2 separate regions of the Homo sapiens genome follow, and region 2 is linked to region 1. The links are contacts of gene promoters, found by promoter capture Hi-C in human tissues and cell types (Jung and others, 2019). All regions are on one chromosome and are shown on one strand. Each heading gives the region's core, a stretch centred on a gene start or on the middle of the fragment in contact. The rest is flanking DNA. Distances are from core to core; before and after follow the strand shown.

The links. The method cuts DNA at HindIII sites, captures the fragments that hold promoters and counts their contacts. A contact is called where the count stands out against the background at its distance.
Region 2: a fragment that was not itself captured here is called in contact with the fragment with the promoter of OR52I1 in region 1 in 1 of the 25 tissues and cell types used here (adrenal gland).

Annotation. Positions count from the first base shown.
Region 1 is chr11:4,592,542-4,596,822 of GRCh38, reverse strand. It overlaps OR52I1 (olfactory receptor family 52 subfamily I member 1), which reads right to left and starts at 2,784. Exons shown (of 1, transcript NM_001005169.1): 1 at 1,810-2,784. The coding sequence starts at 2,784. The coding sequence ends at 1,810. It overlaps OR52I2 (olfactory receptor family 52 subfamily I member 2), which reads right to left. Exons shown (of 2, transcript NM_001405760.1): 2 at 3,483-4,281. The HindIII fragment of the contact is 5,548 bases long and covers 1-4,281 here.
Region 2 is chr11:4,631,565-4,635,845 of GRCh38, reverse strand. No RefSeq gene overlaps it. Among named protein-coding and RNA genes, the nearest start is that of OR51D1, 3.8 kb to the left of the region's middle. The HindIII fragment of the contact is 5,020 bases long and covers 31-4,281 here.

The DNA of each region.
Region 1 (4,281 bases), core at 1,535-4,034:
AGGACTACTCCCTTAAAATTATGGAATTAAAAATGTATTGGGTATATTTTTAAGTTCATACAATATGTCAGAGTTTGTGTTATCTGCTTTCCATGTTTTATTTAATTTTTAATACTCTGAATTAATGTTGTTTTTCAGTAGACAGGAAGTGTTAAGACTCAGATATAGTAGCTTGCTGTTAACAGTTTCCTCTCGCACTTTAATTTTAACACTAGTAGGAAATTATCTTTTTATTAAGATTTTCAAATGTACATATCTCTTATATATAAGATCTTTTTCTTTTAACGTATACTGATTACTCAGTTCAAGATTTTCTGAAGGGGAAAAACAAAACCAAAAATCATGGAAGCATCCAGTGACCTGGAGAAGAGTGATTACATTTCAACTTCCTTTTTTTTTTTTTTTTTTTATTATACTTTAAGTTTTAGGGTACATGTGCACAATGTGCAGGTTTGTTACATATGTATACATGTGCCATGTTGGTGTGCTGCACCCATCAACTCGTCATTTAACATTAGGTATATCTCCTAATGCCATCCCTCCCCCTTCCCCCCACCCCACAACAGGCCCTGGTGTGTGATGTTCCCCTTCCTGTGTCCATGTGTTCTCATTGTTCAGTTCCCACCTATGAGTAAGAACATGCGGTGTTTGGTTTTCTGTCCTCGTGATAGTTTGCTGAGAATGATGGTTTCCAGCTTCATCCATGTCCCTACAAAGGACATGAACTCATCATTTTTTTATGGCTACGTAGTATTCCATGGTGTCTATGTGCCACATTTTCTTAATCCAGTCTATCATTGTTGGACATTTGGGTTGGTTCCAAGTCTTTGCTATTGTCAACTTCTTTATCTACATTGTTTTCTATTAGCCTCTTCATCACAGAGCACACCCCCTGAGAGGTGCCCACAAGAAGAAAGACCTGTGTATATTTGATCCCTTTCTTTTATGCCTTAAGGTTAAGTTACACGGACTGGGACTAGGAAGCAACAAGAAAGATTTCCAAAACCAAACTTATATTAACTTAGCTTCTGTTGCTTAAAAACAAAAAGCTGGTAATTGGTTCACTAACTCCAACTAGCTTAACAATAGGAGATACATTTAAAAGTTAAGTGGTATTTTACAGAACATAACAATATACCTGGGTGTCCAAAGTGATTTGGAATCAGAGAACCAAGGACTTATTCTCTTCATCCGTTCTTGGTGATTGGCTTTTGATGCATGGGCCAATCCCAATTTTCTCCTTCCAGTTTATGTGTTGTAGAATTACCACCATCTCTGATCCCAAGTTTATATCTCCCCAGATGAACAGTAGACCATACAGCTTGGGAAGGACCCTGGTCTAGGTGTGGGCATTAGGACCCAAATGGAGTGAGATCACTATTGGGCCAGAGGGCAGGGTCATATATTAATAGCTTCTTCCATGTAATCACTTGGAGGAAAGAACAGTTCTGAGAATATCAGTCAGGTTAAGGGGAAGATACCAAACAGTTGGTCTCTTCAGCAGAGGGGATGGTAGGATATTAGGTAGGAAATATAGGTCAGAAGCTATAGAAGGAAAAATTACAGAGCTGTATTCTATACCAAACTTACTCTGATTCAGACACTATCATATTAACCCATTAAAAATGTCAGAAAATTAGAAACATTTCATTCATATTATTGGTAGAAATTTAAAAGTTACACAAAGATATCCTTTATAGCTTCATCTCAGATTTCCTTATAGTACCAGGTAAACCAATCCAGCTCCACAGATCTCTGAGGCATCTTTGAAGTTGGCTAGAATGCTCTGGATCTGAACAGATATTGTGTTCATGAACCCAGGTTGGAGTGGTCAAAGAGGAAGTGCATCAGATAACTCCATATTCCCTCCAGCAATTGTTTGGTCCTCATGCCATAGATGATGGGATTTAAAGTGGCTGGGATGATCACGTACAGGTCAGCTAGCAGCACTTGGGTGTGCAAGGGCACTATATCCTGCCCCAACCAGGCCGCATAGATGGATGCCATCCCAGGTAGATAGTACAAAGCCATAACCCCCACATGGGAGCCACATGTGCTTAATGCTTTCAACTGAGCAGTCTTTGAGGAGAGATCAAATACTGCCCTGAGAATTAAGATATAGGAGGCAGCAATGAAGGCCACATCAGAGCCCACCATAAGAGAGGAACCAATCAGACTGTAGAGACTGCTGGGCACGGGGTCAGCACATGCTAACCTGGCCAAAGCTATGTGCTTACAGTAGGAGTGGACAACCACATTGGAGCCACAGAAAGGTAGATGATTCATCATCCAACTCAGTGGAGTCATGAATGTGACAGCTCTGATGGTGACGGCCATACTCATTCCCAGCATCACTTGAGGCGTGAGAATTCTCTTGTAGTGTAGAGGCTTGCAGATGGCTACATAGCGGTCAAAAGCCATGGTCAGCAGCAGCCCCGTCTCCACAGCTGTGGCTAAGTGGACAAAAAACATCTGAGTGAAACAAGCACTAAAGCTGATGGAGCTGTCTCCCGAGCAGAAGATGCTCACCATCTTGGGTACCACGGAGGAGGCCATAACAATGTCCACAGCAGCCAGAACACACAGAAAGCAATACATGGGCTCATGCCGAGTGGAATCCATCCAGATTGCAGTCACGATGAGGGTGTTTCCTAACAGGGCTGTGATGTACATGGCACTCAGTGAGATAGCCAGCCAAAGATGTGAAGATTGCAGTCCTGGGATACCCACAAGGAGGAAGGAGGCAGGGGTTTCCATTGTGTGGTTGTAAGCTGGACCCAGCATCACAGGTGAGACTTCTTGCCTATTAATGTATAGATGATGTAAGAGAATGGTGCAGTCCTATAAGATTAGTTCCTCTTTGTGGTGCTGGGAAAACCTAGGGATATTCTCAGCTTGGTGGTATGGCAGGATCAGAAAAATGACTTCTAATACTGTGCTACTTTTCATCCTCCTTACAAGTTTCTATTCATTGTTGAAGGATCAGCTCGTGAATTCCTTCCTTAGGGACTTGTGTTCTGCTCTCTTCCTCACCCAACCCCATGCCCAGGTTAAGTTAATTACCTCTTTTGCAGTTTCCTGAAATCTCCTGTAGGGACTAAATCGACAATTCCAGTACTGTATGAGTTTATGGTATTCACTCAAGTGCCTTATAGGAAGATTGTGATCCATAGCTGTGGTCACAAGTCACTTGAGTGAAGATATATATACTCATTACAGTAAACAATTTCCACAGAAAGAACGATTAACAGAGGAAAGAATGACTTATCTCTGTGTGCTGTTACTAAATGTTGAAACCAGAACTTCTTGAAAACAAACATCACATTTTATATGCTCAGCATATTGCATAGACAAAACATAAATTCAGCATTCTTGTGATTCATGAAGTACGTTAGTAAGTTCAGTAAAATAAAACCATTAGAGAATAACATTATCACATTTTACAGGTGATTATAAATTATCTATAAATAAATATAATCCTTACCTTCTCTAAATTTACCCTGGATCCTATTCACTTTGGTTCAGTTAATAGATTAAATTACTACAAGGAAAATCTTAGGGTTACCTTATAGATGACCCCCCCTCCCCAATAAGTTGTTATGGTTCTTTAATACAACTAACTCCCTCTTCCTGATAACCAAGATGTTCCAAACAAGAAAGCTTTATCCTTTAGAAAGTTAAGCACTTTATTATTAACACAGTATGTGCCAGTACTATGTTAAAAGTGTAGTATTCATAATCTGAGTGTATTTCTCCATTTGTAATATAAGACAAACATCCATTCCATACAACACAGTTTGTATAACTTAGATTAAATATTCTAGCCAAGATCATGTAGTACGTGTGTGGTAAGTTTTGGGTTTAAGCTATGACTCCCAGGTGTCCATCCAGCCCAACATAAATAGTCAACAAGACAACTATGGATAAAACAAGGTTAGGGGTTTCACTTGGCCACGTTTGATGAGACAAAGATAGCTACTGCTGTGCACAGCCAGCAGCTGAGCTCTACCACTTGTTCATCTCTGTTTATTGATGTATTCACCCTCCATTGCCTCATTCAGGTGTTACCATATCATATAATATGTAACAATCTAAGTGGGGAAACCTGAATATAAAGAAGTCAGCATTAACTACCATTCTATTCCTGTGTGATAGCTGTTTAGTTACTCTCTCCTTAGGATGATTGGTTTCCATGATTTCATATTCATATGGTGTTTGGTCATAGGCACATTTTCCCTGCCATCTGAGAAGACTCCTTACAAGGGGAGGCTCCTTCCTCTG
Region 2 (4,281 bases), core at 1,291-3,790, 39 kb before region 1:
CTCCATCTTTTTTGCCTTTTCTTCATTCCAAGCCAAGACAGTCTTTTGCCTAGATCATCAGAATAACTTGTTCACTGGTCAGACTCACAGAAGAACTTCCCTACCAATCTGTTGTCTATGCTGTGGCCAGTGTGATCTTCCAAACACATATCAGTTCATGGCAATTCTCCATTGCCTTTAGAATGAACAGTTGAATTCCCCATTGCCTGTAGAATGAACACACTCCTGAACCCAACTCATAGGAACTCCATAAGCCATCTCAGTGCAACTCTCCATCTCCATCTCCAACCATTTTACCTCCCTTTTTGCATACATAAGTCCTATTGGACCCGAAATATTTCCACATCTTCAATGTGCCATGCTCTCTCTCACCCTTCAGCCTTCACATATATTTTTCCCCTGGTAAAAACACTCATCCTATTCCCAGTTTTAATTCTTAGCCTTTTCTGTTTAAACACCCTTGCTTAGAAAGACTTTTCTTGACCCCTAATCTTGGCGGGACCTCTTTACCCTTTTTCTCTTTGTTTTACTGATAGCATTTAACGTTGTGATATTATTTTTCATACTTATGAACATATCTTCGTATCTTTGTAGGGAGGGTGGACACTAATGTGTATGTATAAAAGGAAACGTGAACAGAGTCCTCTTCTATCCACTCTTAAGGCAGAAATTATTGGTCTTGTTGATCTGCACTCATACCTCACAACTCTATGACTTCAACTGAGGCATGTTTAATGGGCAGGCCGCTTAAATTATTATTAATATTAATAACATTATGTACCTAGTTGGCGTAATTTCCACAGGCACTTTTCAAGCATTCATTTTTTTTTCTCTTTTTACAGTATTAAGAATAGATCTTATTAAGGTGACCCAAAGTATGACTTTAAAAATAATAGTTTTCCCTCTACTTATATTTCAATATTTTTTGAAGGAAAGAAGGGAGGAAAAATCACTCAATGTAAATGGAATGCTAAAGGTCCAATGGATAACGGAGAGCTTTGGCCAAACATATACTCATGGCTTAGGAGGTCCTAAAAGATATGAACTTGCCTAATTCGACAGCCCCATCTCATGACACCTCAACTCTCCCTCAATACGGCCCTGCATTGGCATCTTTCTAGTTCCTTAAATAAAGTTCTCTATCTGTACACCTTCTTCTAAGCATTTGCTCAAATGCTTGTTTTATCTGGAATGGTCAACCTCTTTGTTTCCCTCCTCTAAAAACTAACATTTATTTAGATTCTGTTTTAGGTGCTATTTCTATAAGAAGGTCTTTCCTGTAAGATGTTTTCTTGTTTCTTTAGTATCCAAATTTCATTTTTAGATGACCAATGCCATTGTTTTTTGTTACGAGATAATGATATGTGTGTCACACACAAATCCCTACAACCTCCCATGAAAAGAAAGAGTGTAATGGTACCTAAAGATAAAAATGATTCCTTGTGTTAATAACCTGTTATAAAGCAAGAAAAAGAAACATGATATGAGAGTTAGAAAATGAAATTAGTCATTATTTGTAGATTAGTGATTGTATATGTAGAAAATCCAAAAGACTGTATTGATAAGTTATTAGAAATGAGTATGTAAAGATTGCTGAATACAAGGTCAACTTACAAAATTCCACTGTATTTCTTTATAAAATTTTTAAGCATTTACAATAACAGAAAAATCAGATGTCTAAGAGTGAATCTAACAAAGAATGTAGAGGAATTTCTGCACAGAAAACCACAAAGCATCCTTAAAAGACACTGAAGAAGACCTAAATAAATGGAAGAAAACACTATTCTTTTTAACTGGAAAACTCGATAATGTGAAGAATCTACTTAGCCCCCAAATTTTTCCATAGAATCAATACATTCCCAATAATATCCTAATTGGTGATTGTGTAAAATTTGGTAAGCTTGATTAAAATATACATAAAAATGTAAATTGCCAAAATTAGCCACAAAACTCTAGAAGAATAGGACAAAGTGAGATTTTATATACTAAATATCAAAAATTTAAAAACTATAGTAATTATGCATATGTGGTATTTGTTCAGGGATAGACAGTTGAGCCAATGAATGGAAATAAAATTTCAGAAGTATGCCCACTCATACACAGCCAGTTGTTAAATGACAAAGGTAATTCTGTGAGGCAATCAGAAAAGGAGAATTTTTTTATTAAATGATACTACAATAACTGAATATCCATATAGAAGAAAATAAAATTTGAACCCTAAATTCACACTACTTATAAGAATTAAATCTTTGTGGTTTTCATATATAAGTACAAAAGGCAAAGCAATTAGCCTTCCTGAAGTAATATAAAAGAATATTTTTATGACCTCAAGTAAAGATTGACTTCTTAATGCAGTTAATTCATCCATGAATATTTATTGAGTGCCTAATATATGACAGGTACTCTTCTAAGTGATGGAAACACTTTAATGAACAGAACAGACAAACTCTCCTGCTTTTGTGGAGCTTACATGCCAGCCAGTATGATTTAGCTTTCCTCTGTAGGTATATCTGTCTAGATGCATGCCAGATAGTTTTTTTTTTCACTTGCAGTTTATAAATTTCATTAGGAATTATCTAGAAATAGATCTTTTATTTTATAAATAAGTGAGCATGGCATATCTCCAAATGCTAGTGAAGATGCAGAGAAACAACCTCTAATGCATTGCAGGCGAGAATGTAAAATGGCACAACTACTCCGGAAAATAGTTTAGTAGTTTTTTTTTATTAAATTTTAAGTTTTGGGATACATGTGCAGAACATGCAGGTTTGTTACATAGGTATACATGTGCCATGGTGGCTTGCTGCATCTATCAACCATTATCCAGATTTTAAGTCCCACATGCATTAGGTATTTGTCCTAATGTTTTCCCTCCCCTTGCCCCTCGCCCACTGACATGCCCGGGTGAATGATGTTCCCCTCCCTGTGTCCATGTGTTCCCATTGATCAACTGCCACTTATGAGTGAGAATATGCAGTGTTTGGTTTTCTGTTCCTATGTTAGTTTGCTGAGAATGATGGATTCCAGCTTCATCCATGTCCCTGCAAAGGACATGAACTCATTCTTTTTTATGGCTGCATAGTATTCCATGGTGTACATGTGCCATATTTTCTTTATCCAGTCTATCATTGATGGGCACTTGGGTTGGTTCCAAGTGTTTGCTATTGTGAACAGCACTGCAATAAACATACATGTGCATGTGTCTTTATAGTAGAATGATTTATAATCCTTTGGGTATATACCCAGTAATGAGATTGCTGGGTCAAATGGTATTTCTGGTTCTAGATCCTTAAGGAATGGCCACACTGTCTTCTACAATGGTTAAACTAATTTACACTCCCATCAACAGTGTAAAAGTGTTCCACATGCTCTCCAGCATCTGTTGTTTCCTGACTTTTTAATGATCACCATTCTAACTGGTGTGAGATGGTATCTCATTGTGGTCTTGATTTGCATTTCTCTAATGACCAGAGATGATGAGCTTTTTTTCATATGTTTATTGGCCACATAAATGCCTTCTTTTGAAAAGTGTCCATTCATATCTTTTGTCCACTTTTTGATGGGGTTGTTTTTTCTTGTAAATTTGTTTAAGTTCCTTGTAGATTCTGGATATTAGACTTTGTCAAATGGATAGATTGTAAAAATTTTCTCTTATTCTGTAGGTTGCCTGTTCACTGTAATGATAGTTTCTTTTGCTGTGCAGAAGCTCTTTAGTTTAATTAGATCCCATTTGTCAATTTTGGCTTTTGTTGCCATTGCCTTTTGTGTTTTAGTCATGAAGTCTTCGCCCATGCCTATGTCTGGAATGGTATTGCCTAGGTTTTCTTCTAGGGTTTTTATGGTTTGGGGTTTTACATTTAAGTCTTTAATCCATCTTGAGTTAATTTTTGTATAAGGTGTAAAGAAGGGGTCCAGTTTCAGTTTTCTGCATATGGCTAGCCAGTTTTCCCAGTACCATTTATTAAATAGGGAATCATTTCCCCATTGCTTGTTTTTGTCAGGTTTGTCAAAGATCAGATGGTTGTAGATGTGTAGTGTTATTTCTATGGCCTCCGTTCTGTTCCTTTGGTCTATATACCTGTTTTGGTACCAGTACCATGCTCTTTTGGTTACTATAGCCTTGTAGTATAGTTTGAAGTCAGGTAGCATGAAGCCTCCAGCTTTATTCTTTTTGCTTAGGATTGCCTTGGCTATACAGGTTCTTTTTTGGCTCCATATGAAATTTAAAGTAGTTTTTCTAGTTCTGTGAAGAAAGTCAAAGTTAGCTTGATGGGAATAGCA